Regions from separate parts of the Homo sapiens genome. Here region 2 is linked to region 1. The links are contacts of gene promoters, found by promoter capture Hi-C in human tissues and cell types (Jung and others, 2019). All regions are on one chromosome and are shown on one strand. Each heading gives the region's core, a stretch centred on a gene start or on the middle of the fragment in contact. The rest is flanking DNA. Distances are from core to core; before and after follow the strand shown. Region 1 holds the start of BRD4 (bromodomain containing 4). Region 2 overlaps RAB8A (RAB8A, member RAS oncogene family).

Region 1 (2,761 bases), core at 122-2,621:
GTTCAAGTGATTCTTCTGCCTTAGCCTCCTGAGTAGCTGGCATTACAGGCATGGGATTACAGGCATGCGCCACCACACCCGGCTAATTTTTTTTTTTTTTTTTTGAGACGGAGTCTCGCTCTGTCGCACAGGCTGGAGTGCAGGGGCGCGATCTCCGCTCACAGCAAGCTCCGCCTCCCGGGTTCACGCCATTCTCCTGCCTCAGTCTCTCGAGTAGCTGGGACTACAGGCGCCCACCACCACACCCGGCTAATTTTTTGTATTTTTAGTAGAGACGGGGTTTCACCGTCTTAGCCAGGATGGTCTCGATCTCCTTACCTCGTGATCTGCCCGCCTCCCAAAGTGCTGGGATTACAGGCGTGAGCCACTGCGCCCGGCCCACACGGGGCTAATTTTTGTATTTTTAGTAGAGGCGAGGTTTCACTCTGTTGGCTAGGATGGTCTCCAACCCCTGGCCTCAAGCCAACCTCCTGCCTCTGCCTCCCAAAGTGCTGAGATTACAGGTGTGAGCCACCGAGCCTGGTCTGACTTGGGGTTGAGTCTTAAGGATGGGAAGGAGCTGGGCGCGGTGGCTCACGCCTGTAATACTAGCACTTTGGGAGGTCGAGGCAGGAGGATCGCTTGAGTCCAGGAGACAGAGACCAGCCTGGCCAACATCGTGAGATCCCATCTCTACAAAAAATAGTTAGCTGGGTGTGGTGGTGCACACCTGTAGTCCCAGCTACTTGGGAGGCTGAAGCAGGAGGATCGCTTGAGGCCAGCAGGTTGAGGCTGCAGTGAGCTATGACTGCACTACTGCACTCCAGCCTGGGGGACAGAGCAAGACCATGTCCCTTTTTTTAAAAAGGTGGGTTGGAAGAAGATCAACAGGGGGGCATAAGAGGAGAAAGGTGCTACCTCCCTGCCCAGGGGCAGCCAAGGAGGATCCGCCTCGGCCTTGCTCGCAGCCTCCTCTCACCTCCTTTCCTCCACTTCACCCCAGCCCCGGCGCCCCCATCGCAGCTCTCTCGCCTCAGCCTCCCTACCTGGGGTCCCCCCTTAGGGCTCTCTCCTCCGCCTCCTCCATCAGTCTGTGGGGTCCCTCCTCACCATCCTCCCTCCCTGTGAGGGTCTGTCTTCAGACCTTTCTTAGTATTTTGGATGTCTCTCTCAGCCTTCAGATCTTTTCCCGCAGGCCCAGCCTGCAGTCCGCCCGTTTCCCCCAGCCCGCTCCTTCGCTCTGCGGGGTCTCCTCCCTCAGTCCGCGGTATCCCCCACTCACCTCGCAGCCACTGTCTCTCCAGAGCTCGTTCGCGCTGGGCGCGGGGGCGGGGCGCGCACACCGGGCGGCGGCGGCGCGGGGCCGCGCGCGCAGCGTGCGCGGTGACGTCAGTGCGCTGGCGGCGGCGGCGGCGGCGGCGGCGGCGGCTGGGCTGTTTGTTCTGGTCTCCCGCAGCCGAGGAGCCGAAGCAGTGGCGGCGGCAGCGGCTGCGGCGGCTGCCGGCGGTGCCCGCGGGCGAGCGCGGCCTGTGAGCTCGGCAGAGCGGCGGGCGGGCCCCGGCGCCGCGCAGGCAGCTCGGGGAGGGGGCGGCGGCAGCGGGCGGACGGCCGGCGGGGGCGGCGTGCGGCCTAGCGTCTCAGGTGAGGACTGGTGCCCTTTGGGGCGGCGGACGACACTGGGCGGCTGGCGGAGGCTCGCGGCGCGGTCCGCGTAACCTGCATTGCGTAATGGGGCCGGGGCGCCGCCACCTACGCCATCCGCGCGGCGCGGGGGCGGGGAGGCCGGGGCTACGCGGGCTCGGGCCTGCGGGCCTCCCGCGCCGTTCGTTCCGGGCCGGGGCGGCCTGCGCCGTTGGTGTCGGGGCGGCGGGGTCGCTCGCGGCTGTCCTGCCTTTGGTGCCGTCGGACCCGGGCTTGGGCTGGCCGGCGGGGCGCGGGTGGGGGGCGCGGGCGCCGCGGCGGGGCCGGCGGTCGGGGGCGGGCGGGGGGCGGGCCGAGGCGCCCGGCACTTCCTGCCGCCGCCATTTTGTTAAGTGAGGAGGAGGAGGAGGAGGAGGAAGCGGCCGCCGCGGGGTCCGCGGCGCGCCCGGCCCGGGTAAGTCCCGGCCTGGCGCGGGGGCCGCGAGCGCAGCTGTCCCGGTCCGCGGTCCTCTAGGCGGGCTCGGCCGCGGCGCTCACGTGGGCCGGGGCCGGCGCGCTCTCCTTCTGGCACCCAGGTCGTTTTGCCTGGGCCGGGGCAGCGCGCCCCCACCCCCATCTCTTCACCTTCCCGGCGGTCCCCGGAGTGCTGCGGAGAAAGGGGCAGGTCCCCTGCGGAGGGAGGTGGCTGCGGCTGCACGCCGGTCTGAGGCCAGGCCTCAGGGCGGGAGCGGTGCCCTGGAGGCGAGCTTGGCCCGCTTGACGCACCCACTCTCAGCCTGGCAGCCCCTTGCTGGGCGCTTTGTTTTGCTCGGTCCGTGCTCGCCGGCGTCCTTGCAACGGCCTATTTTATTTGCAGTGTTGTGTGGTGGTGGTGATTGTGGTGATTTGGGGTGGGGATGTGGGGGAGTTGTGATTCAGCGAAATAAAATGATCCCCCTCCTCCCAAACGGAAATAGCATGGCTTCACTCGGCTGAGATGCCCCCAAGGCTTGGGTTTGCTTGAAGATGGGAAACCCCACTCTGTTGTAGTGGACGGTGTAAATACTTTAGTTCAGGCCGGTGCATGAGTCATGTGCTTCTCCTGGGTGGCTGACCTCCCTTTTACTCAAGACTACGCTTTGTTTTTTTAAGATTTTTATTT
Region 2 (2,761 bases), core at 93-2,592, 790 kb before region 1:
TCTCGTTCTGTCTCCCAGGCTGGAGTGTAGTGGCATGATCTCGGCTCACTGCAACCTCTGCCTTCAGGTTCAAGCGATCCTCAACCTCCCGAATAGCTGAGATTACAGGCATCTGCCACCATACCAGGCTAATTTTTTGTATTTTTAGTAGAGACAGAGTTTCGCCATGTTGGCTAGGCTGGTCTCAAACTTCTGACCTCAGGTGATCTGCCCGCCTCAGCCTCCCAAACTGCTGGGATTACAGGCATAAGCCACCTCGCCTGGCCCTGACATTTCAACTATTTTTGGGCTCCAGAAACAGGCCGTGCCTGAGGTGGTCGCAACTCGAGGCCGTCACCAGCTGCAGGCACTTCACCACCCTGTCTGATGTTGCCCAAACTCTGCCCTCATACCCAAAGGCAGCTCCTTCGTCAAGTCTCCCTGGGTCCCCATGGAGCGGACCACGCTTCCTGGAGGACGGGGACACTGGAAACTGCTGTCTTCTTCCACCAGCTCAGACTTGGTCTCTGGAACCTACTGCGCCACTCCCTGCCTCACTTCCCATGAACCAGAAGGTGGCTCCTGCCCGCTGGCCAGAAACAGAGACCTTTCACAAAGACCAGGCTCTCCTCCTCTCCACGGATGAAGACAGCTTTCCCAGCTGGGGTGCAGCCCTGCACTGGCAAATTTGGCAGCACAGCCCTCTCAGGGTCACTGGGGAGGTGAGCCCAGTGCAATGACTCACAAATGATGGGGTGGCCTCTCGGCCTGGCCTGGGAGGTCCATGAGTCCTGGGTGGACAGTGATATGCCCTTTTGCTGTGGTTTTATAGATGGGAAAAGTTCTCTGGCTGTGCCTCAGACCTGAAGCCCCACATGGTTAGTTATAGAAAGCTGCAGGTGCCGGCAGCCAGGAAGGCTTTGGGGGTGAGGTCAGCTCTTTGGGGAGCAGAAGATGAAGATGCTGGCTTTGGGAGGGGAGGAGGGGTTGGCCTACTTCTCACTGCTCTATGGTTCAAGGTCTGAACACAGGTCGTTTGTACCAGGTCACACCCTGCTCCGATATAGCTCAAAGTACAACTGACGCCTGCTCACCACACCCTCCAACTACAAGGGTCACACCTGTGCTAGACCCTTCCTTCTCTAGAAAGCACCCAACACTCATGGTGACCACAAGCTTGGATATCCTTTCTCTTATAACCATGACACTGGCCAGATCCAACAGCCTAGCTGGAGGGATGGGCTCCGAGGGGCTCCGGGGTGGGGCCAGGCCAGTGTGTGGTCCCTGGGGCCGGCTGCTTGCATCTCAGTCCCTGCTCCCACCATGTCCCTGACTAGGAGGCTGTGGGCAAGTGGCCTGTATGTGTCTCTGCACCTTGGCCTTCTCATGAGTAAACCAGAGGGCTCTGGGACAAGGACTGAAGCAGGGACAGTGGGAGGAGCCGGAGGGCCTCACCTCCTCAATGTTGCGAATCCAGTTCCGGATGTTGTCGAAGGACTTCTCGTTGGTGATGTCGTAGACCAGCATGATGCCCTGCGCGGGGAGAGAAGACACAGGTGCCTGATCGGCTGCAGGCTCTGGAAGGGAGGCCTCAGCGGCACCAGAGAACAGTGGTGGGGAGCCCAGCACCCACTGCACAGCCAGGCCCATTAGCTGCCGCCCTCCCCACCTCTGTGGAGCCCCGGAAGCCAGCCCCCTCCTCTCCATCCCTGTGGCCCTTCTTTCTGCTGGGTTCTGGCACCAGCCTTGTCCTGCCCCCCGGGCCGCTGAGGTGACCCTTCTGCCTCACAGGCCAGCCCCTGCCACGCACTCGCTGACAAGCCCGGCTGGCTCCCCTCATGGCCCACGGGGTGGTGCAGCCTGACGGTGGGAGCCGGTCCACAGGCCCACTGCCAGCAGCACTCCCCTCACGCTGACCCTCCCCTGCAATCGGCCTCCTCTTCACCCCTTGCTCACCCCACGCTCTGCCTGAGCCACCTACCAGGCACAACTGAGCCCAGGAAGTCCTGACCCGACATCCACACAACTTCCAGTGACCCCACCACAGAGGGAACCGGCTGTGTGAAGATGGAGCCGAGAGTGCCAAGGCCCTTCCAGTTCCCTAACCTAGACGTGAGCAACTGGGAGACGGCTCGTGGGTCCTGGAAGAGCTTCGGGGCAGCCCCGCCTCAGCCTGGGTCCACAGCCTCGCTACTGCTGTGGACAAGCGCAAACATGCCCATGCGATGCAAGGGGAAACTGAGGCACAGAGACGTGACCTTTAAGATTCAAGCACGGGGGGCGGGGGGGGGCTAACTCCAAAAGCACTGATGACACCTATCCTCTCAGCAATATCCCTGGGCCTTTTTCAGCCCCAGAACCCACATGTGGGGGCCACCCTCTGACGGTCTGTGTGGTTCTCGATGTCCTTGTGGAGTGCCCACAGCGGGCCAGCCTGCAGTGCCATCACAAGTCCCCCTTTGTTGCCGGGCATCCTGGGCTCCAAGGCACGTGGCCTGCTCATGGCCAGGCCTGGATTTCTTCCTTCCTCCTCGCTACCTGCTCCCCAGGCCCAGCCCTGCATCTGTGGCACCTGAGGGCACTGATGACTTCTGCTGCTGGCCAAGTTGTCTGGGGCCATCCAAGTTTGCAGAATAAGGACACGGGCCATGTGGTAATGGTGAGACAGATGTGGGTGCAAGAGTGTGGGACAAAAACGACACAGATGGGGCAAGAAAGTCACTGCAACCCCAAATCCTCCTGGGAATTCAGGGACATGAATAATGGCCTCACAGTCAGCCGC

What was found. The method cuts DNA at HindIII sites, captures the fragments that hold promoters and counts their contacts. A contact is called where the count stands out against the background at its distance.
Region 2: a contact is called between a fragment that was not itself captured here and the fragment with the promoter of BRD4 in region 1, in 1 of the 25 tissues and cell types used here (dorsolateral prefrontal cortex).

The regions. Positions count from the first base shown.
Region 1 is chr19:15,331,149-15,333,909 of GRCh38, reverse strand. It overlaps BRD4 (bromodomain containing 4), which reads left to right and starts at 1,371. Exons shown (of 20, transcript NM_001379291.1): 1 at 1,371-1,620. LOC124904643 (a long non-coding RNA gene) reads right to left here and starts at 1,297. Exons shown (of 4, transcript XR_007067146.1): 1 at 1,262-1,297. RefSeq lists an enhancer at 489-1,105 and silencers at 1,062-1,131, 1,272-1,371, 1,602-1,831, 2,032-2,131, 2,162-2,311 and 1 more. The HindIII fragment of the contact is 25,776 bases long and covers 1-2,761 here.
Region 2 is chr19:16,124,221-16,126,981 of GRCh38, reverse strand. It overlaps RAB8A (RAB8A, member RAS oncogene family), which reads right to left. Exons shown (of 8, transcript NM_005370.5): 4 at 1,435-1,512. It overlaps HSH2D-AS1 (HSH2D and RAB8A antisense RNA 1), which reads left to right. Exons shown (of 2, transcript NR_199156.1): 2 at 1-2,761. Among named protein-coding and RNA genes, the nearest start is that of RAB8A, 14 kb to the right of the region's middle. The HindIII fragment of the contact is 7,709 bases long and covers 1-2,761 here.